6 separate regions of the Homo sapiens genome follow, and all the other regions are linked to region 5. Evidence: promoter capture Hi-C in 16 types of primary human blood cells and fetal thymus (Javierre and others, 2016). All regions are on one chromosome and are shown on one strand. The core of a region is centred on a gene start or on the middle of the fragment in contact, and the rest is flanking DNA. Distances in the headings are between cores, read along the strand shown.

Region 1 (3,772 bases), core at 877-3,376, about 220 Mb after region 5:
AGCTAATTTTATATTTTTAGTAGAGATGGGGTTTCACCATGTTGGCCAGGCTAGTCCTGAACTCCTGACCTCAGGTAATCCGCCCACCTCAGCCTCCCAAAGTGCTGGGATTACAGACATGAGCTACTGAGCCTGGCCATAATTTTTGCATTTTTAGTAAAGACAGGGTTTCACCATGTTGGCCAAGCTGATCCCGAACTCCTGACCTCAAGTGATCCACCCAACTTGGCCTCCCAAAGTGCTGGGATTACAAGGGTGAGCCACCACACCCAACCTCCTCTTATACTAACCTGGTACCTGGGCCCCAGAGCAGTACACCAGCTTTCGCCCCTCCCCAGACTACTCCAGAGTTAAAACTTGAAACAGAATTTGGGAACCATTAGTTATTGGACATTCATTTATTCAGCAACTATGTGTAGAGCACCCACTATGCACCAGGCACTGTTCTGAGCTGTGATCAAGGACAGACATGGCCCCTGTTCCACTGGAAGACTGAAAAAAGCCCCCCGCCCCCACAACTGGGGCAGGAACCCTCAGAGCACTGTGGCTACCCTGGCTCACTGGAGAGGAAGTAGCTCCCGAGTGAGAAATGAAAGAGGTGAAGGATGGGACCCACTTCCTGGATAGAGAGAACAGCCCACAGAGGCTCTTTGGTGGAAGGGGAAGGGACAGGGGGCCTCAGGAAGGCAAGCGCCTGGGGACAGAGCGAGCATCAGATTCGGGCACCCCAGGAAGCCTTCCTTACAGGAGGGTTCTGAGCTTCAGCCTGAGGGCCCGATGAAGGGGAAGGGCAGTCCCCAGCCCACAGTCACAGGGAGCTTGGAGATTTCCGGAGGCTGACCTGCTTTCTAGTCTGTGTGTCCAGGGCCTGAACACCGTGGGGGGCACAGTGCTGGGCGGATGCTGGGAAGAGCTATGCATTCTAATGAGCCCGCACAACCTGCCCTCTCTCCCCAGAACCCGAGGAGGAGCAGATGGGGCTCCCGGCAGGTGGGGCGTGGCTTCCCAGTAGCATCCTTAAGGGAGGCCAAGGACTCTGGGGCAGAAACTGAGCTCCAAAGCCAGTGGGAAAGTGCAGCCCACCAGCCACCACCTCTCTACTTGGCACTGATGCAACGCAGGGCCTCCTGGCTTTCAGGGCCAAAGGAAGATTCGAGACCCCCGCCCCAGGGCCCCGCTTTGGCAGAGGGAGGAAGAATTGTCCCCATGCCCCCTACAGTCAGGCCTGCTCTCCCTCTCGGAGGCCATCCCAGCGACTCCAGGGGGGCTGGTCTTCATCTAGGGCCCTCCCTGACATATATCCCTGTTCCAGGGAGGATCCGGGACTGGCGGCTCCGCAGCCACGGCCTCCGGCTGACCCGGCATCCTCTCCTCCCACAGTCTCCTCCTGCAGGAGGCCGTCCCGTTCCGCCTCTGGGCGGGGGTCCAGGGTGGGAGAGGCTGACTCACCACAGAGGCGACAGGGGCACTCCCTGACTTCACCCGATCCCAGGGACCCCCAAGGTCAGCGCAGGAAGAAGTGGACCACAGGGGAAAGTGAGGCACAGGGTGGGGGTGGGGGTTCCCAAACTGTCCTGACTCCAGCCGGCTGGAGGCCACACACACACACAAGCTGAAGCACAAAGGCCACTCGCCCTAGTAACACCAGAACTCCAGTGACACAAGGAGAGACCCACACAGAGGGGAGACGCGGGCTCGGGGCTCTCACACCCAGACACAGGGACACAGCGGCGGACACGGCCCCCGCCCGCCCACGGCGACACGCCCAGGACACCCGGAGGACCCTGGCGCCTGGAGCGCCTCCCGCGCACTCGCAGACTCCGGCACACGCGAGGATCCCGCGGAGGCAGGGCCCCCGCGCTCACTCACCCACCTCGGCTGCCCGGGCCCGCGCCTTTGTCGTCCGCGCCGCTCACAAAGGCGCCTGGCGGCCGGCGCCGCGCCTCCAGCTCCGCAGGCCGCCGCGGGCGCCCATGGCCGGGACGGCGCCCCCACCGCCGCAGCCGCCGCCACCCGAGCCAATGGCCGCGCCGCCCGCCCGCCCGCGAGGTCCGGGCCCGCCGGGACTGCGCCCGCGCCCGCCGCGCTCCGAGGCCTGGTCCCGCCGCCGCCGCCGTGCGCGACGCGGCGCCGCCCCCGCCCGCCCGGTCCCGGGGCGCCGCGGCTGAGGTCACCGCTTAACCCCTGGTGGCCGGGGCAGCGGCCGCCGCGCCCCCTCCCTGCTCCCAGCGCGCCGCGAGGGAGACGTGGCCTCCCCCGACCCGCTGCGAGCCCCCAGCGGTCCCGGCAGCCCACCGGCCCCCCACAGTACAGGGGGGAAACTGAGGCCCGCGGGGATGGGGCCCGGCCCCGGCCACACGGCGACCTCCTCGCTCCTTCACCTACCCCGGGGTCCCCACTTCCCGCCTCCCGGTTCTCCTTCCCCGGTTCTCCGCGGGGAGACCCCGCAGGCGCGCAGGGTGCTGGCTTCTCCTCCCCCACTTCAACATTTTGCCCTGAGGTTCCCCCAAAAGGGTGAGAATCCTGGACCGGCCCCAGGGGAAACCCTAGACTTATGACCTGCCCCTCAACCAGTCTTGGCGGCCCCGTATTGCCCCCCACCCCCGCCATGGCAACATGGGGAACCTTGCAGCCATGCAGCCAAACCTCCAAGAACAACCCTGGCGGGTTCAGGCATTGACGGCTTTGAGACCGGCAACACCCCAGTGATGTAGCCCCATTTTCCCTAGGAGAAAACTGAGGCTCAGAACTGAGAGTAACTTGGCAAAGCTCACTGAGCAGCAAAGTGCTGAGACTGAGATCCTAGCATTCCCCTGCCTTTGCAGCTCCAAAGCTGCCAAACACTAGGTACTCCCTCCTGAAATTCCAAAGAGGGCCTCTGGATATGATGCAATTAATTACAGTTATCAGGTCATTAATTAAGATTATCCGCGTTGTTGTTAAACACTCCCCCGCTACCCCTCTATTTGCAAGGAAATTCACACGCGGGCTTATCAGCAATTACTCCTGGGTTGATAATGATAAGTTCTGCAGCCTCCAAAGGGTACAGGTGCACGTAGGTTGAAATCATTTTCAGCTTGTGTTCCTTACAGCCCACAGCCAGCAAAAACTTTTTTTTTTTTTTTTTTTTAACTACTCCCTATTTGTCAGGCACCAGCCTCAGGGGCTACCAGTGAGACAAAGAACCAGACAGACCCCAGCCCCGCCCCCTCGGAGCTCATAGGCTTAGGAGAAGACGCAAATAAACAAACGGCTACAGTGCAGTGAGACAAGCCACACAGGCCACGCACTGAAATCATCTTATTCACCGACTTGTTGGTTTGTTTATTGTCCCTCTCGACACAAGAACATAAGCACCACAGAGTTGTCCTGAGCCCCAGGCTAGGGCAACACTGGCTCATAGTTTAAGTAGGCAGGAGATATTCTTTGAGCATTTTTGCTCTGTTCCAGACATCGTTCTAGGCACGCAGGAGACACCAGTGAACACAACAGGCACGGCCCCTGCCCTGCTGTGAATAAATGATGGCAGGACAGCAGACAGGAGAGGTTTGGGGATGCTAGCAAAGCAGGAAGAAGACTTCAGATGTCCATTGAGTGACCTCAGGCTCATGGCATTAAGCTTTGGACCAGAAATGGACTTTTGAGTCCTGCCGTCATAGCCAGAGCCAAGTACACATCCCAGACCAGCATCGCGGTCTTTCACAGTGTACTCCAACCCCTTCCTTGGCTATGTTTTTTTTCTTTCTTTGTTTTTTTTTAAGAGACTGGGTCT
Region 2 (3,530 bases), core at 604-3,103, about 220 Mb after region 5:
TGAGAACCCTGGTGGGTGCCCGTTATCTGTCACACAGTAAGGGCTCCAAAGTCACTCGTGGCAGAGGGGTGCCCAGACACGAGCTCACCTCTGGGGGCGCCTCGAAGTCTCTCCAAGCTACACAAGTTTTGTCCCAGTTTGGCAGGTGGCCACCCGAGAGATTCCTCCTGATTGGAGGATGTGCTCAGCCGGGTGCCTGGAGTTCATCAGAAGTTACTGGCCTCGGCCGGGCGCTGTGGCTCACGCCTGTAATCCTAGCACTTTGGGAGGCCGAGGCAGGTAGATCACCTGAGATCAGGAGTTCAAAACCAGCCTGGCCAACATGGAGAAACCCCGTCTCTACTAAAAATACAAAATTAGCTGGGTGTGGTGGTGCCTGCCTGTAATCCCAGCTACTTGGGAGGCTGAGGCAGGAGAATCAATTAAACCTGGGAGGCGGAGGTTGCAATGAGCTGAGATGGCGCCATTGTACTCCAGCCTGGGTAACAAGAGGAAAACTCTGTCTCAAAAAAAAAAAAAAAAAACAGTTACTGGCCTCTCCCTGGGTCTGTGAGCTGTGCCTTTGGGGGACAAATGACCTCCTGGCTAAAACTCGGGCCTTCCCTCTTCCCCACTCACATTCCTCCCAAATCCCTGCCACTCAGAAGCAGCTGGGCTCTTCACCACCTCCTAATTTGGGCCGCCTCAGGGAGAAGGTTGGAGTCCAAGGGCTGGGTATATCAGCACTGGGCACTTGTGGGCCTCACCCCTCTTGTCTGGGGGCACCCGTTCCTGGAGCTCCATCTTCCATCAGCTCTAACTCCTTCCCAAACACACATCCCCTCCGCCCCACTCCTTCCCTCCCACGGCCTCTGCCCACCCCCCCTCAGTTTCTGTCCTCACCTACCAAAGACCACTTCCTCACACAGGGCTGATGTATGTGTCTGAACAGCACTCCCACTGGGTCCCAGGGGAAGGGCTGGGACATGGGAGGGGCTGGCCGAGGCCCACACTGATTGTCATCCTACATCTCAGCCTCTGTGAGACACACGATGACCTCTGGGTGGCACCCCCCTTCCCTTGGTGGCCCAGGCCAGAACCGGGGCCCTAATCCTTACCCCTCTCCTCTCCCTCCACCCACACATCCTATCAGTCACCAGGTGCCACCAAAATCCCAGTCCCTAAGCAGTGGCCGGGTCAGTCCCCACCTCTCCAGCTCTGGCCACAGCCAGGGGCTTCCTTGCCCCTCCCCAGCCCAGAATGACCCATTTCACGAGCACACCCGACCACGGCTCGCGGAGACAACCACTCCAGGCTCCCATCTCCCACCCTCCAATGCCTTGGCTTGGCGTCCTGGTCTCCCTCAGCTGCCGGGTTCCCCATCCCCACCGCTTCCCGTTTTCTCTATGGTGAGGTTCATCTGACTGTTGGGGGATGGGGGTACCGGGCTGCACCCGGCTTTGCACAGGCAGCTCCCTCTCCTCGCCTTTAATTTGCAAACGCCTCCTTTAAGAAGGTTCCAGGATCGTCTTCTCTGGGAAGGCTTCCTGGCCCCCAGGCTGGGTTAGGGCACCCTCTTTGTGTTCCCACATTTGCATTTTCAGCCCCACTGGGCTGGGGCGTCCGGAGGGGAGCTAGGGCCCTCCAACACCTGGGCGCCCACCGAAGGTTTGTCGAATGAAAGAATGACAATCCAACCATGGAAAGCACAAAACTGGTCCCTGATGACTTCGCCACGACCTCAGCGGGGCGGGACGAGTTAGGGGCGGGACCACGCTTGACGGACAGGCCCGCAGCCCACTGCGAGAGGACTGGGGCGGGCCGCCCCGCCCACCGGCCGCTGGATAAGGCTGCGCGCGGGGCCGTGGGGCGCAGGCTGCTGGAGAAGGCGCACCTGCTGCAGGTGCTCCCGGCCGCCCCGGACCAGCGAGCGCGGGCACTGCGGCGGGGAGGATGCTGCGCGAGCGGACCGTGCGGCTGCAGTACGGGAGCCGCGTGGAGGCGGTGTACGTGCTGGGCACCTACCTCTGGACCGATGTCTACAGGTGAGCCGGCCCACCGTGATGCCCGGGCCGAGATCTCGAGCCCAGAAATCCTGAGACGCGCTCAGACTCGGGGACGTGGACAGCCTTTGTCCAGCCCGAGTTGTCCCTCATCCCGAGCCCCCGAGCCCAGAAATCCTAAGAATCTCATCCAGAAACCTGACAACCCCCGAACCTTGTGTCCACCTTCCAGAAACCCTGAGACTCTCCCAGACCCCCTAACACAGCCTCAGCCCCAGCTCCCTCACAGACCCTCCCTTTCACCCGTAACCCTCCGTCTGGCCCTCTCCAGTTCTCCTCCCGGGGGACCTCACACCCCTTCAGCTTCCCTGCCGTCCTCTCCCCTTTCACTTCCCCTCCGCACCTCACTTCCCCTCGGACCCACCTCAACCCAGCCCCTCTCCTGCTTCCCACTCCCAGTTCAGCGGAGCTTCCGCGGAGACTTGCCGGGGACTGGGGCAGGACCCGAAGGGAGCTGCCCTGAGGCTGAATCCGGCCCTGGAGGTTACTCAGGCTCCGATTTCGCCCTGTGGGGGCTGCTGGTGGTTGCTTGTCCCCAGGCACTGGCCCTGAGCTCCGTGTCCCCAGATACCTTCCCCTGACTTCATTCTGAGACCACAGAGGGACAATATTCTACCCAGCTGACGACGGGGACTTGGGGTGTATAGCGGGGTACTTTGTTGGAAAAGGATCCTGATTCAGAGTTCTGCTCCCTCCCCTTCTCTCTGTCCAAGAACTTGGTAGAGTGCGGGATGTCCGAGACAGCTGAAGGTAGGGTAGGGCCCTACCACTCCCCCCGCAATCCCAGAAAGCAGCCAAGTCCAATGATCTGTCTCCCTGAGTAATGGGACGGGGCCTTGGAAAGGTGTGGCTGGTGTGAATGAAAGGGTGGGGTTATGCTGGGGTTTGATCTGCCCCCTCTATTCCAAGCATTTAAAACCTCCCCATTGCTAGGGTTGGAGGGGTCAGTGCTGGGGGCAGGGAGCATGCAGGACTCTGAGGTGGGACCCTGTGCTGACACCGGATGAGTCCCCTATCCTCTCTGCCTCAAGCTGAACTCACACGGAGGCACCATCGTGGTTTATGGCTCTCAAATCATCCTGACACCTGGAGCACCCTGCCTCTCCCAGGCCCCCACCAACCCATCATGTGTCTCCCCACACAGCCCTGGCAGCCCTCCCACCTGCCCAACCAGTCTCCTGCCACCGCTGCAGAGGCACTGGCCACGCTGATACCAACAAGCCCCAGGACTAGGGACCCACTCCATGCCTCTGTCCCTGGCCTCAACCTCTGCCTTCCCCTGGGCCTGGGCTTCAGTTGTCCCCCATGTAAACCTCAGAGGTGGACTGGGTGGTCTCTGAGAACAAGAACACAGCAGTGGAGGGTGGTCCAGGCTCTGGTGGGGTGCAAGAGCTCCCCTGCCTTCCCCACCCCCAGCCCTGAACTGGGCACCGCTAGGGAGTGGGCGCGGAGCCAGAGTGCTCAGGTCTCTAAGCCTCAGCTGTCACC
Region 3 (3,930 bases), core at 517-3,016, about 220 Mb after region 5:
GAAGCTCTGCGGGGGAGGAGCCAGGCCCAGGCTTCCTGGGACAGGTCAAACCGGAGACACATCTGCCCAACGGGCACGAGGCAGCAGGGGCAGGTGAGTCACCCCATGGCACGCAGCCCAGTCACCCCATGGCAGGCAGGCAGTGGTGCCAAGTGGCAGATACCCCTCCTTCCTCATTACCTCCTTGGCACAGCCTCCGTGGCTGCCCCTTCCTTCAAGAACCACTGAATCCCCTTCCTCCTCCTACTGCCCACCCACCAATACCAGGATTTATTTCCTGGGCTGGCTCTGCTCCCGACTTGGTTCCCTCCCATGACCAGCTCCTCACCCCCTCTCATCCAATGCCCTGGATCAACCCCATCGCTGCTCCCGACTAAGTTCGCCCTGATTTTTCGAGTCTTAGTCTTGGAGACTCGTTCTCAATGGGTGGGCTATTTTCTTCCCACCCCAGGGCACATTTGGCAATGTCTGGGGACATTTTTGGTTGTCACAACTCGGGAGTGTGCTGCTGGTATCTAGCAAAGAGAGGCCCAGAATGCTGCTCTCCATCCTACAGTGCACAGGGTGGCCCCCATGACAAAGAGGTATCGTGACAGCAGTGCTGAGGTTGAGAAACCTGGCCTGAGGAGAGGGCTGGGAGACTTGAGAGGTGAGAGCTGTCCCACAGTTCTGCACCCTCCCCTCCCAGTATCCTGATTACCTCCAAGCCAGGACCCTGGATTCTCCCCAAAAGCCTAAGAAGCCAGCTCCCTGGTGGTCCCCAGAGCCCAGCTCTTAAAACCCTACCCTAACCCTCTTTTCTTCCTAAGAGAGAGAAGATAAGGCCTTACCTCCCTCTACCATGGGCCTCAAAGGCATGACCTGGCACACAGTAGGAGCATAATGCATGGGCATTGAGTGTCTAGAGGAAACCAGGTTGGAAATCTTTATTTTCCAAGTATCAGAGCAGCTAAAACCATAAGACTCCTGAGTAAGACCACAAGCGGGTTTAAACCCTGGCTTTGCCACTTAGTAACTGTGTGACTTGAGCAAATGGCTTGCCCTCTCTGCCTCGGTTTTCTCATTTGTCTGATGAGATGATGCTAATAATAAGCCTAGCTCACAGGGTTGTTGTAAGGGTTAAATTCAAGATTAAAGTTCAAAACTTAACTCAAGAGACTTGTGAAGCTCTTAGAATAGTGCCTGGCACATGGTAAGTGCTATGTATTAACTTATTTTTTAAAAATGATTCATGCTCTGTTTCTAGGCTCATAGGCTCAGGATGGGGCTGGGGATATCTGCCTGTTCCTATTCTTGTGTGCCCCAGACAGATCCTCAGCCCAACCTGCAGCATCCCTTGGACATAGAAAAGTGCCATCTCTTCGCGGCACCAGCCCCCTCCAAGCCCCCGGTCTGGAGCTCAGTCACTGAAGCCTCTTCTACCTGGCTCAGCCTCCCAAACTTCAAATTCCCTGGCTAAGGTCTTCAGGAAACTCAGTAGAGCAAGAGGAGGACCCAAGCTTCCCTGATTGGCTGCTGTTCCGAGGCCAAGGCTGGGGAGTGGGCCCTGAAGAAGCCCTGCCCAGCCTGCAGGGAGGAAGGTCCAAGGGCATCAGCACCAAGGGCCTGCAAACCACTAGGCCTCTGACTCTTACCCATAAATGTCCACGAGGGTCTCCACGCCAGCCACACACACCGCGCTGGTGGGATGCTCCAGGGACACACGCACGATTCTCTGCAGCGACATGCTGGTGTTGGACTTAGCTGTGGCCGCCAACCCCAACACTGCCCCTGAGGCCCCTTAGGATGAGGTTTAAAAGCCCCTGGCCCCACCCCTCCAGCCCAGGGTGCCAATTCATTGGCTCCAGTCATGAAAGCCCAGCCCCTTCCCAGAGCTGAGAGCTCAGGATTGGCTGGAAGGGACCCAGTATTTGTATACGAACCTGTTGTCCCGACCCCGGCACCCAGGAAGTTAATTTCTTGGGAAGCAAGTCCCCACAGGTACCTGGCTAGGCACCAGGAACTGTTGGGGGCAGGTGCTGTTGAGGGGGTGCAGAGATATATGATATTGATCTCGGACGCTTCTTGCTTCCTCACCTCCATTTTCTGCATTTTCAGAGACTATAATGGGGAGCTTTCTTACTCTGCTGGGGAAGCTGGTGAAAATGCGGATTCCCAGGTCTGTTGTCCACTCTGATCCAGCAGGTTAGGGGTGCAGCCTGGCCTCTGGATTTTTTTTTTTTTTTTTGAGACGGAGTTTCACTCTTGTTGCCCAGGCTGGAATGCAATGGTGCGATCTCGGCTCACCGCAACCTTCGCCTCCCAGGTTCAAGCAATTCTCCTGCCTCAGCCTCCCGAGTAGCTGGGATTATAGGCGTGTGCCACCACTTCCGGCTAATTTTGTATTTTTAGTAGAGACGGGGTTTTTCCATGTTGGTCAGGCTGGTCTTGAACTCCAGACCTCAGGTGATCCACCTACCTCGGCCTCCCAAAGTGCTGGGATTACAGGCATGAGCCACAGCACCCGGCCCTCTGGATTTTTTAATAAGCACCCCCAAAGCATTTTGGTGCCCTTTGAGAAACACCAACTTTTTTTTTTTAATGGATTTTAGAGCCAGACCTGGGTTTCAGCCCTGCCTCAGCTGCTTCCTGGATGGGCGACCTTGGGCAAGTTTCTTTTTTTTTTTTTTTTTGAGACAGAGTTTCGCTCTGTCACCCAGGCTAGAGTGCAGTGGCGTGATCTCGGCTCACTGCAAGCTCCACTTCCCGGGTTCACGCCATTCTCCTGCCTCAGCCTCCCGAGTAGCTGGGACTACAGGCGCCTGCCACGGCTCCCGGCTAATTTTTTGTATTTTTAATAGAGGCGGGGTTTCACCGTGTTAGTCAGGATGGTCTCGATCTCCTGACCTCTTGATCCACCCGACTTGGCCTCCCAAAGTACTGGGATTACAGGCGTGAGCCACCATGCCCGGCCGGGCAACTTTCTTAATTGTTCGTGCCTCACTTTTCTCGTCTGAAAAATGGTTGCTGTGAGGCCTCAGGGGCCAGCGTTGGTAGAGCTCTGGTATGGAGCTTGGCGTTATTGTATTACTATTGTTGCTGTTATTAGGTCCCAAAAACCTCTGAAAGCGGTAAATGATGAGGGTGAGAACTCTCTCCAGCCAGGGGGAGCTTGGCATGTCAGAGTAGGAAAGCTCAGTCGTCAGGTGGGAAACCGAAGTCAGAGGGGCATTCAGGCTCCTGGAAGAGCAGGAGCAAGGGCTCTGGGGAGAGAAGTCTTGGGTTCAGAGGCAGGCTCCACCGTGCACCCACTATAGGGCCTTGGGTGTCAGTGTCCCCCCTCTTGGAGACTCGGTTTCCTCATCTGTAGAAAATGCAGCTAATCACTGGCCCTGGCGGAGATAATAGTGAAGACGCACCCTGCCTGGCGGAGGCTCAGGAGGTGCTGAATAGAGGTTTCCTCCCTTCTCCCTGGCAGTGCTGACAGCCTGAGACAGGATGGGGACCAGGACCCGCTCCCCAGCATCTCCAGCTGGGACATCTGCACCAGTTCAAGGGCCTCAACAGGACCCTGAGATTGTCATTCCCATGTCTCAGTTTTTGGGAAAGATGTTCTTTTCAAGGAGAACTGCTGGGCTTCTGGGTCAAGGGACAGCTTCACTTTTTTCAGCTGTGGAATGGCTTGATGGCTGAGTCAGCCTTGGGAGCCCTGGGTAAGAGTTCGAGCTCAGGAGGAAGCCTTAGTCTCCCTAGCCTTCTTGTGAGCACAGATGGGGAATAGATGCAGAAAGTAGGGGCTTTCCCTGGGGTGCTGGCCCACTACCTGCCTCTTTCTCGGAGAACTGTATATGTCTTTGGAAGGAGACTCATGCCTTCACTTCTCCTCTGTTAATACCAACTTTTAGAAACAGGTTTGTGGTTAATTCAGACTAAAGTGTCAATGACTAATAG
Region 4 (3,562 bases), core at 816-3,315, about 220 Mb after region 5:
AAGCTTCCTCTGGCCTCCTCCCTCATTAAGGAGAAGGGACGAGCTGCAGGTGCGGCTCCTTCCCAGCTGGCTCAGGGAATAGAGCCCCTTTAAGGCCAGGCAGCCTTAGCAATAAAAAGAATGAAGGGGGCACCCTTGCAAGGCAGTCCCCCATGCAGTCCCCAAGCCCTCTGCTTTTATTTATTTATTTATTTATTTATTTATTTATTTATTTATTTTAGAGGGAGTCTCAGTCTTTCACCCAGACTGGAGTACCTCTGCTTTTATGAAGCCGCTAATCCAGTGCCAGGATCTAAAGCAAGCAGCTGGCTTCTACCAAGTTCCTGCCATCTCATTTCATCCTCTCCATGCCTTCCATTTTGTAGGTGAGGGGAAGGAGAGCCTTAGAGAAGGAAAGTGACATTTTAAAGCTCACACAGCTAGAAAGCAACTCATGCATCCATGTCTTTCTGATGCCAGAACCCAGCCCCTTGCCACTGTACCATACTGCCTCTTGCCAAGGCCACCTGGGCTAGCCATTTCCAAACCCAGCCTTCCTGCTGCCCTGGAGGCTGGGTTCCTGCCAGAAATTGAGCTAAGCCCTGGGGGAGGACATGGGAGTTCTGAAAAGTTAAGCAGCCTGCCTCCCCTGGAAGTGTCACCGGAAGATGAAAGAACTCTTGTCACCTGACCCAAGGAAGCCAGTCCCATGGCCCAGGTGGTCAACAGGAATGACCCGCAACTGGTTGGCTCGGGCAGCCTGCCCCAGCTGAGTAAATGGCTCCACTGGCACCCAGCTGCTCAGGCCAAAACCCTGGGGAGCATCTTGAATTCCACACATTCCTGCACCCCCACATCCTATCCACCAGCAAGTCCTGCCAACGTGTGTTCCTGTACCAAATGTTCACTGGGATCTTGCTATGAATCAGGTGCTGCTTTCCCTCCTGGGGTCTATCCCCTACCCACACCCTCACCACCATCACAGCTGTGTCTCCTTCCAGCCCCTTCCACAATAGGGATCGTTGGAGTTTTCCTTTCCTTGACTAGGGCTACTTCCCAGTAGACAGCAGTCTCCGCAGGGACAGGGGCATCTCTGTTTTGTTCACTCTCACGTTCCTGGCTCCCACAGTGGTGCTGGCACTCCATAAATTCATACTGGACAAATGACCAGTGATCCTGCCCACGTCTATCCTTGGCCCTAACGTGAACCTTCCCTTGTTTGCCCTAGGATCTCACAGATCCACTCTCCCCTTTGGAGCTCCTCTGTCCAGAGGTCCTGGAGACAGGGAACACTATGCCTGTGCCGGTCACTATGGGGTAGCAGGATAAATGCTGCACGCAGGTAAGACATCTCTGGTGCCTTTCAGGGGTCTTCATGAATCCCCCCAGTGCAGGTGTGTCTGCAGGTCACGCTGTGAGGCTTCTCTTTCTCTGGCATTTCAAGGCCTCCAGTGCATCATGGCAGACTCTCCCTGGGTCTCTGTGGGCCCACATCTGACCCTGTGAATCTCTGGGCAGGTGTGTCTTCCTTCTTTGCATTCATCAAGCAGCGCCAGGCACTGTCTCAAGTGCTTGATACGCATTTTCTTTTTTTTTTTTTTTTGAGACAGAGTTTCGCTCTTTTTGCCCATGCTGGAGTGCAATGGCATGATCCCGGCTCACAGCAACCTCCGCCTCCTGGGTTCAAGCGATTCTCCTGGCTTAGTCTCCGAGTAGCTGGGATTACAGGCATGCGCCACCACGCCCAGTTGACAAGCATTTTCTTGTGTGATCCTCGCAGCAGTTCTCTGTGAAGCAGGCATTGCTATCCTACAGGTTGGGAAAAGAGGGCCAGAGAGGATCAGTGACTTGCTCACGGTCGCGCGGCCTGGAAGACATGGAGAGCTGGACCAGCACGCACAGTCCCTAACCACTGGGACGTGCTGGCGGGGGCTACCTCCGTGAGGTGTGTGTCTCCGGTCGCCCCGCCCCCGGTGTGTGCGGAGGAGCAGGCGGGGACTACAAGTCCCGGCAGCCCCGGCGCGGGCGCTGCGAGGGCCGCAGAGGGCCGGGCGGGGCTTGCGGCGCGCACGGAGGGACTGCGGCAGTGTCGGAGCCGCGCCGAGCCTGGTGGCCCAGGTGCCCCGCCCGCGTCAGCCCTGCTCCAGCCCCGCGCTAGCCCAGCGCCCCTCGCCCCGGGCCGTCCGGACCGCGCCCCCGCCCAGGGCCTTGCGCACGCCGGGGCCCAGGCCGAGGGCCGCAGCGCCGGGGCCGGCGATGAGCGCGAGGAGCCGGCATGAGCGCAGGTGAGTGCGGAGTCCGGGTCGGCCCCGAGCCCGGCGCGGTCCCCGGCCCGCCAGTTGTCGTCACCCCTTGGAGGGAGAGGGGAGGCGACGCCCCCCACCGCGGGGTCGCGAGCCCAGGAAGCGGGACCTGGTTGGGGATCCTGGCCCGTCCCCTCCCTTTTGACGGGGACTCGGCCCCGGTTTCTTCCCAGAGACGCCGGGGCTGGGGATGGCGCCGCCGCTCGCAGCCGGTCCCTCCCCTCCCCTGCACCCCTCAGCCGCGGGATTGGAAGCCGGGCGCTTGTGCAAGAGGGTCCTGGGGCCGTGCGGGGACGGGGAGGCCACCCCACGCCCACTTAATCGGATCCCACCCCGAGTGACGGATGTCCAGGTGGGGGAGACGGCTGCATCCTCGGGCCTCTGGGCAACCCCTCTGGGCTGAATGAATGAATGAATGGCGTTGGGGGAGTCGGGACTCCATTTCCTGGGTAGATGTCCTGGGCCACAGCGCCACTCCTGACCTCCTGCCTCAGACCCCAGAGAAAACCCGTCACACCCAGGGCCAAGGGCCACACCCTCCATGCAACCCATCCCTGGCCAGATGTCCTACGCCCACTCCTCCAGGGTCTAATTTAAATCCCACCTGCCGGGAATGGGGCCAGTCCTCCTCCCCTATCCAGAAAGGTCTCATCTCAGTGTCTGTCACTCAGCCCCCAGCCCCACAGCCTAGAGTGCACCCCCCGGCGAGGGAGGGGAAGGAATGAGGAAAGACAGCCCCTAGAATCCAGATCCAAAGATGGGAAGATGGTTCACACACACTCCCGCCTCAGCCTGGCAGAAGACAGGAGCTCCCCGCCGCCGGGAACCACAGCCAGGGAGGAGGCAGCCGCCCTGGGCCGCTGCCAGGTCACCAGCAGGAAGCCAAGGCTTCCGCAGGAAATAAGAGGTCCCAAATGGCTCTAGCCCCTCTGATCCACAGTGCTGGTGACACTGCCCCGAGCTGTGACCTCAGACGAGGTTCAAGTCCAGTCTTGGCCCCTCATAGCTGTGTGACTTTGTGCTTGTCAATCTACTCCTCTGGGCCTCGTTTTAAATGGGAATCCTAATCTGTACTTTTCATGGAATGGCTGTGGGAAAGAATGTGCCCATTCAGACACACTCATTTCCAGCTTCTCCCCTTTCAAGCTCTATGACCCTGGACAAGGGATTCACATGCTGTTCCTCAGTTTCCCCAGGTGTACAATGGGGATAATAATAGTCACTACCCCAGAGGGTTGTGTGTGAAGCTTCATTGAGTTAGCACACTGAAGGGCTTCCGC
Region 5 (3,498 bases), core at 894-3,393:
CCTCCTTTCTTACGAAGCCTTGGATACATCCCACTTAGCTTGACAAACTTTTACCGGAATTCTCTGATCCCATTTCACAGCTGTTGCAAAGGTAGGGTCTTGGTTGTGTCTTCCTTCAAGCTGCTTATGAACCAGGGGTGGAGACTAGGAAGTAAGGAACCCTGGAATCAGAGAAGTCAGGAGCAAGCATCTTGTTGGCTTGAGGTTCTCCAGGCACCATAAATCAAGTAGTGCGCATACTAAGAAAACAAGCTGGACAACAAGAGGAGAGCAGGAGGGTCCTTAGGATTGGCTGCTTGTACCATGGCCCCCAGTGGCTCAGTAGAGACAAGGGGAATCCCAGGTAAGTAGACTCCTTCGCTCCCCAGAGAGGAATCTATTGTGTCAATTGCTGGGAAACACGCTCAGTTGAACTGACCCTCTATAGCCGTATGTGCGTGTGGAATCCATTGTTAGGGAAACCATGGTGAGAAGGGAAGTGAGATGCTCTGGATGGGTGCTGAGCTGAGTGCTGATGGAACAGACCTTCCAGAAAAGGTTGCATATTATCCAAGGAAATATCATTGCCTGGAGAGTCCTAGGCTGACTTGCTCTCTTGGGAGCTGATGTTTAGGGAATGGGAGAAGCAGCTGGTTTAAAGCATCAAACAATGTGAAATGAACTTCAGAATCTGCCAAATCCTAAACATTTCTTGCTAAGCACCATTTTTTCTGTATTGTGAACCCATCTGTGCTTCAAAAGCAATTTTGTTTAAATGGCTTCTTCCCCTTACTCCTAATCCTTGGGAAGCTGTAATACACAGGTGGTAAAGGGGACTCCCCAAGAGATGCTCACTAGGACTGCTGTGAGCCAGATACTGGGCTGACACTGCATAGCACCGAGGGTGTGGGAGACCAGAAGTCAGGAGCCTGCATTCTCAGGGGAGGGACTGGATCCCTGCAAGGAAACAAAGTGTGGTGTGTGTGGCTTCATGATCCACTGGCCTAGGTCTAATAGCGGATCTTTTTGCAAATTTATTTTTTTCTTTTCTTTTCTTTTCTTTCTTTTCTTTTCTTTTTTCTTTTCTTTTCTTTTCTTTTCTTTTCTTTTCTTTTCTTTCTTCCTTCCTTCCTTCCTTCTTTCCTTCCTTCCCTTCTTTTTTCTTTCTTTCTTTCCTTGCTTTTTTTTTTTTTTTGATGGAGTTTTGGTCTTGTCACCCAGGCTGGAGTGCAGTGGTGTGATCTTGGCTCACTGCAACCTCTGCCTCCCGGGTTCAAGCGATTCTCCTGTCTCAGTCTCCTGAGTAGTGGGGACTACAGGCAGGCAACACCAAGCCTGGCTAATTTTGTATATTTGGTAGAGACAGGGTTTCACCATGTTGGCCAGGCTGGTCTCAAACTCCTGACTTCAGGTGATCCTGACCTTGGCTTCCCAAAGTGCTAGGATTCCAGGCGTGAGCCACCGCACCTGGCTTGCAAATTTCTATTTCTAATTGAGCCAGCATTTCTTCCCAAAGGTTCACTGGAAAATCACTGACATGAAGAAGATTGATTAATAGGAAAAAAGGCATACACATTTATTTAATGTGTATACACAGGAGCCTTCAGAATGAAGACCCAAAGATAGAGGGGAAATTGTCCACTTTTACACTTAGGTTCAAGACAGTATGGATAGTCACATAGAAATATGACTGGACAAAAAGGGTCTGATGGAATGCTAGACTAGACTGAGTAGAAAGCGCAGCAAGGCCTGTCTGCCTAGATTCTTCCAGGCATCCATGCCGCATTCCTTCCTTCTGGGTATGGGACAGGATCCTTTCTGGAGTGGGGGTCTTATGACCTACAGTCAAATAAGATAGGTTAGATGAGGTCTTTATGGCCAGTTTTTACACAGAAAGGTGGAAGGAAAGCTAGAGTTGTATTTTAGGTTTTATGGCTGGCTTTGGGGAAAAGGGGTTCTGGTTTTTATATCCGCCTTGGGGAAGAGGGATTCTGGTTTCTATGGCTGGCCTCGGGGAGAATGAGGGGCAAGAGATAGGAGGGCAGGAGAAGATCAGAGAAAAACTTTTGCTTCTGAGGCTAAGCCTTCCTTTTGGGGTATTGTTTTCTGAGTCCCAACACTTGTTATTTGGAACAACTCATTAGAATGTAGGGACTGGGGCTATGTCATGTATTAACATCTCCCAGGGAGCTGTCAGCCTCCCTCAGCAAATGCTTCCTGAATGCATGAATGAACCAATGAGTGTTGGCCATGCAAAGTCAGTAGTTTTCTGCCAACCCCATGAGTTCCACCAGTCGTCTCCAGAGATTCCTTGCAAAGAACTTGGTACTGGGGCATGTACTTATAATGTCTCCTTCTTTTTCCTTCTATTCTATCATCCTGTGTCTTGTCCAGCCTCCAGGAGTTCAGTGAGAAAGGAAACACACACACACACACTACAAAAACCAGGAGAAAAAAACCATTAAAAAATCCCACTGTAGGAAGATTCTGCTGCCTCTAGACTTTAGGAAAGCCGCTGACCTAATTCATTTGCTATGGTGGCTTTTTCATCCTCAGGACTGGTGCTGCCTGTGTAGTTCAGCCTGTGAAGGCTCCCTTTCAAGTAGGCCAGCTGCATGGTATTCTGGACTTACAATGTGCAGGGCAGATGTAGTGTCCCCTTGAAATACACTTAACGGTGGGCAACAAAATCCAAAAGCAAACCCCCACAAATATCTAACTTAAAAAAAAAGAACTTTCTAGATCTCAGTCCTCATCTGGATACTTCATTAGGATCCTGAGACATCTGGGGACCAGCGATGGAAAGAAGGAAAGAGACTTCCATATGTTGAGAGCCTATTATATGCCTGCATTGTGCTAAGCCCTTTCCCATATGTTATCCAATGTAATCCCCCACAAAAGCCCTGCCAGAGTGGAATTATTCTTCTCATTTTACAAATAAGAAAACAGTAGCTCGGAGATGCTAAGTTACTCGCCCAAGGTCACATAGACGGTAAGTGGTAGATGCTGATTTGAATCCAGACAGTGTCATTATCAAGGGGTGGTTTGGGAGGCTTTCGTTGTAACCATCATCTGTAGCAGCCCCCTTCTCCACAATTATCCCAAATAAACACACAATCTAAGTCGGAAGAGCCTACAGGAGGCAAAAATGTAGCTTCAATATGTGCTTCCCTGTCATCTCCCTTTCATTGAGATTATTGCTGCCCCAAATCCTGTCTACACAGACATTCTGGAGTCCGTACTAAATCAAGATTTGTCTGGCTGCAAAGACCATGTTCTGTCCAACACAACCAGGATGCCTCTTCTCTTAGATTCCTACCAAGAAGACCTTGCTTCTTGAAACCCTTACCTAGAAGAGCCAATGAATCAGTGTAGGATTTCCCTAATGGTGGCTGGCACCATAGGTTCCAAAATGTCACCACCAGCTCTAAGTCATCAGCCCTTTAAACGCCTCCACACATCCCGGGGTATACTGACGCGAGGAGTCACAGTGGGTAAGCATCACTAGGTTGCAGAAGC
Region 6 (3,933 bases), core at 574-3,073, about 220 Mb after region 5:
CATTTTTATTGTAAAATATACATAACATAAAATTTACCATTTTAAGTGTACAATGCTGTGAAATTAAGTACATTCACAATATTGTGCAACTATATCATGCTTTCCAGAACTTTTCATCATCCCAAACAGAAACTCCACACCCATTAGCAATAACTTCCCATTTCCTTCTGCTCCATCCCTTAGTAACCTCTGTTTTACTTTCTGTCTCTATGAATTTGCCTTTTCTAGATACCTCTTATAAGTGGAATCATACAATATTGGGCTTTTGTGTTTCTTATTTCACTTAGCATCAAGTTTTCAAGGTTCTTTCATGTAGCATGGATCAGAATTTCATTCCTTTTAATGGAGGGATAATATTCCATTGCATGTATATACCATATTTTGTTTATCCATTCATCTGTCAACAATTGGGATGTTATCACCTTTTGGTATTGGGAATCGGGCTACTATGAGCATTGGTGTTCAAACACTTGTTCTAGTCCTGTTTTCCATTTTCTTGAGTGTATACATAGGAGTGAAACTGCTGAGTTATACAATAATGCTATGTTTAGTGGTTTTGTTTTGTTTTGTTTTGTTTGAAACAGCATCTCACTCTGTTGCCCAGGCTGGAAAGCACTGGCATGATCATGGCTCACTGCAGCCTCAACCTCCCAGGCTCAAGTGATCCTCCCAACTCAGCCTCCCAAGTAGCTGGGACTACAGGTGTGAACCACCATGTCCGGCCTTGCTCACCTTTTTGAGGAGCCTCCAAACTGTCTTCCACAGCAGCAGCACCATTTACGTTCACAAGGGTTTCAATTTCTTCACATTTTTGCAAATATTGGTTATTTTTCTTTTCTTTTCTTTTCTTTTTCTTTTCTTTTTTTTTTTTTTTTTAGACAGGGTCTCTCTCTTTCTTTCTCTCTCTGTCACCCCACACTGGAGTGCAATGGTGCGATCATCACTCACTGCAGCCTCAAATTCCCGGGCTCAAGGGATCCTCCTGCCTCAACCTTTTGAGTAGCTGGGCCTACAGGCACACACCACCCTACCCTGCTATTTTTCTTACTTTTTGTAGAGACGGGGGTCTTGCTATGTTGCCCAGGCTGGTCTTGAATTCCTGTCTTCAAGAGATCCTCCTGCCTCAGCCTTCCAAAGTGCTAGGATTATAGGCATGAGCCACCATACCTGGCCTTATTTTCCAATTTTTTTTTTTTTGAGACTAAGTCTCACTCTACCACCCAGGCTGGAAGACAGTGGCATGATCTCAGCTCACTGCAACTTCTGCCTCCCAGGTTCAAGTGATTCTCGTGCCTCAGCCTCCTAAGTAGCTGGGATTACAGGCATGCGCCACCATGCCTGGCTAATTTTTGTATTTTTAGTAGAGACGGGGTTTCACCATGTTGGCCAGGCTGGTCTATAACTCGACCTCAAGTGATCCACCCACCTCGGCCTCCCAAAGTGCTGGGATTACAGGTGTGAGCCACCGCACCCAGCCATTCAGAGCACTTTCAGTTCTGTTCAGTCTAACAAAGACAGGCATCGAGCACATACCCTATGCCAGGTGCTGAGTACTGGGGTCACTGGGATGTGGCCAATCCAGCTCCTACCATCCTGGAGCTCGCAGACTGGAGGAGACAGAGAGAAAAGCAGTCATTGGCAAAGCAGAATGAAAGGTACTGTAATGAAGCAAATTCACAGGGGCCTGTGGGAGCAAAGAGAAGAAACCCCACACAGTCTGGGGAGAGTCAGGGAAGGCTTTCTGGGAGAGAGTACCCTGGCCCAATAATCACTGTGAGGTTGGCAAGGCAACGATTGTTATCTTCATTGTGTAATGGGGGCCACTGAACCAGTGACAAGCTGGGGGAAATGACACTGTCCAGTAGTTGGAGGTCACACAGCCCCTTGCCTTATTCTCAAACCCTAACCACATGGCTGGATATTCCTGAAATGCATTCCTAAACCTCTGCTGCTGAGAATAATTGGACCTGCCATCTATTCCCAGTTTAACTGCCCTGTATACCAAACAAATCCAATTCAAGCCAACAGGCAAAGTATAGGCTCAGACAGAGCCCATCCTATGTGCAAGGCGGTGAGCAGGGGTGGAAAATCTCACTGTGACTCATCCAGCTGATTTCTGGTAGGTGCAGGGCCAAGGTGGGGTGTAAGGTGAACAAGCTTTCCCTGACGGCCTCCAGACATATATATGATATGCCACTTATCTTTATCTGCTGTATTTTCCTGCCATCATAGATATTTCCAAGAGAAATTCTCCCATTTTTCAGATGAGGAAACCACTTATAAAAGGGGCACTCAATACCCAAAGAATTTTGAAAAAGAACAAAGTTGGAGGACTCACACTTCCTGATTTCAAAACTTTTTATTTATTTATTTATTTATTTGTTTTTCCATAGGTTATTGGGGTACAGGTGGTATTTGGCTACATGACTAAGGTTTTTGTTTTTTGGTGTTTTTTTTTTGTTTACATTAGTAATTTTTTTTGAGACGGAGTCTTGCTCTGTTGCCCAGGCTGGCGTGTAGTGGTGCAGTCTCTGCTCACTGCAACCTCCATCTCCCAGGTTCAAGCGATTCTCCTGCCTCAGCCTCCCAAGTACCTAGGATTACAGGCAGGCACCACCATGCCCAGCTAATTTTTGTATTTTTAGTAGAAACAGGATTTCACCATGTTAGCCAGGGTGATCTCAAACTCCTGACCTCGAGTGATCTGCCCCCCTTGGCATCCCAAAGTTCTGGGATTACAGGCGTGAGCCACCTTGCCCTGCATGAGTAGGTTCTTTAGTGGTGATTTGTAAGATTTTGGTCCACCCATCACCTGAGCAGTATACACTGCACCCTATCTGTATTTTTTTTTTTTTTTTTTGAGACAGAGTCTCACCCTGTCATCTAGGCTGGAGTGCAATGGTGCGATCTCGGCTCACTGCAACCCTCCACCTGCCAGGTTCAAGCAATTCTCCTGCCTCAGCCTCCTGACTAGCTGGGATTACAGGCATGTGCCACCATGCCCGGCTAATTCTGTACTTTTAGTAGAGACGGGGTTTCTCCATGTTGGTCAGGCTGGTCTCAAACTCCCAACCTCAGGTGATCTGCCCGCCTCGGCCTCCCAAAGTGCTGGGATTACAGGCACGCACCACCACACTCAGCTAATTTTTTGTATCTTTAGTAGAGATGGGGTTTCACCTTGCTGGCCAGGCTGGTCTCAAACTCCTGACCTCATGATCCGCCCGCCTCAGCCTCCCAGAGTGCTGGGATTACAGGTGTGAGCCACCGCACCAGGCCGATAAATGGGACTTTTACAAAAATTTAAAACTTCTGTGCTTCAAAAGACAAAAAGGTGAAAATGTAATCCACATAATGGGAGAAAATTTTTGCAGATCATATATATGATTCAGGACATGTATCTAGAATTTATAAAGAACATTTACCGTGCAATAATAAAAAGACAACCCAGTATAAATGGACAGAGGCAGGCTGGGTGCTGTGACTCATGCATGTAATCCCAGCATTTTGGGAGGCTGAAATGGGAGGATCACCTGAGCCCAAGAGGTCAAGGCTATAGTGAGCCACGTTCATGCCACTGCAGTCCAGCCTGTGGACAGAGTAAGACCCTGTCTGAAAAAAAAAAAAGGGGGGGGCCGGGCATGGTGGCTCACACCTGTAATCCCAGTACTTTGGAAGGCTGAGGTGGGCAGATCACCTGAGGTCAGGGGTTTGAGACCAGCCTGGTCAAGATGGCAAAACCGCGTCTCTACTAAAAATACAAAAATTAGTCTGGTGTGGTGGCACACACCTGTAATCCCAGCTACTAGGGAGGCTGAAGCAGGAGAATTGCATGGACACGGGAGACGGAGGTTGCAGTGAGCTGGAACTAGGCCACTGCACTCCACCCTGGGTGACAGAGCGAGACTCCATCTCAAAAAAAAAAGGACGAAGGCT

Evidence for each region. Contacts are between HindIII fragments. The CHiCAGO score rates a contact against its expected background, and 5 or more counts as called.
Region 1: the fragment with the promoter of ARHGEF10L here is called in contact with a fragment that was not itself captured in region 5 in 1 of 17 cell types (neutrophils); the score reaches 9.5 in neutrophils.
Region 2: the fragment with the promoter of PADI2 here is called in contact with a fragment that was not itself captured in region 5 in 3 of 17 cell types (fetal thymus, total CD4 T cells and total CD8 T cells); the score reaches 23.0 in fetal thymus.
Region 3: a contact is called between the fragment with the promoter of PADI3 here and a fragment that was not itself captured in region 5, in 4 of 17 cell types (fetal thymus, erythroblasts, M1 macrophages and 1 more). The highest score is 25.6, in fetal thymus.
Region 4: a contact is called between the fragment with the promoter of ATP13A2 here and a fragment that was not itself captured in region 5, in 5 of 17 cell types (M0 macrophages, erythroblasts, naive CD4 T cells and 2 more). The highest score is 13.7, in M0 macrophages.
Region 6: the fragment with the promoter of SPATA21 here is called in contact with a fragment that was not itself captured in region 5 in 9 of 17 cell types (naive B cells, non-activated CD4 T cells, naive CD4 T cells and 6 more); the score reaches 13.0 in naive B cells.

What each region holds. Positions count from the first base shown.
Region 1 is chr1:17,538,052-17,541,823 of GRCh38, reverse strand. It overlaps ARHGEF10L (Rho guanine nucleotide exchange factor 10 like), which reads right to left and starts at 2,126. Exons shown (of 29, transcript NM_018125.4): 1 at 1,874-2,126. The HindIII fragment of the contact is 7,990 bases long and covers 1-3,621 here.
Region 2 is chr1:17,117,774-17,121,303 of GRCh38, reverse strand. PADI2 (peptidyl arginine deiminase 2) reads left to right here and starts at 1,853. Exons shown (of 16, transcript NM_007365.3): 1 at 1,853-2,024. The coding sequence starts at 1,933. RefSeq lists an enhancer at 728-1,262 and a silencer at 1,834-2,043. The HindIII fragment of the contact is 8,283 bases long and covers 1-3,530 here.
Region 3 is chr1:17,246,934-17,250,863 of GRCh38, reverse strand. PADI3 (peptidyl arginine deiminase 3) reads right to left here and starts at 1,766. Exons shown (of 16, transcript NM_016233.2): 1 at 1,635-1,766. The coding sequence starts at 1,726. The HindIII fragment of the contact is 2,587 bases long and covers 1,502-3,930 here.
Region 4 is chr1:17,010,431-17,013,992 of GRCh38, reverse strand. It overlaps ATP13A2 (ATPase cation transporting 13A2), which reads left to right and starts at 2,065. Exons shown (of 29, transcript NM_022089.4): 1 at 2,065-2,264. The coding sequence starts at 2,255. RefSeq lists a silencer at 1,901-2,430 and an enhancer at 2,921-2,970. The HindIII fragment of the contact is 3,526 bases long and covers 6-3,531 here.
Region 5 is chr1:234,781,682-234,785,179 of GRCh38, reverse strand. The region is part of intron 1 of LOC124904557 (a long non-coding RNA gene); the gene reads left to right. Among named protein-coding and RNA genes, the nearest start is that of LINC02961, 23 kb to the right of the region's middle. The HindIII fragment of the contact is 5,487 bases long and covers 1-3,498 here.
Region 6 is chr1:16,435,314-16,439,246 of GRCh38, reverse strand. It overlaps SPATA21 (spermatogenesis associated 21), which reads left to right and starts at 1,823. Exons shown (of 13, transcript NM_198546.1): 1 at 1,823-2,119. RefSeq lists a silencer at 923-1,093. The HindIII fragment of the contact is 2,188 bases long and covers 1-2,159 here.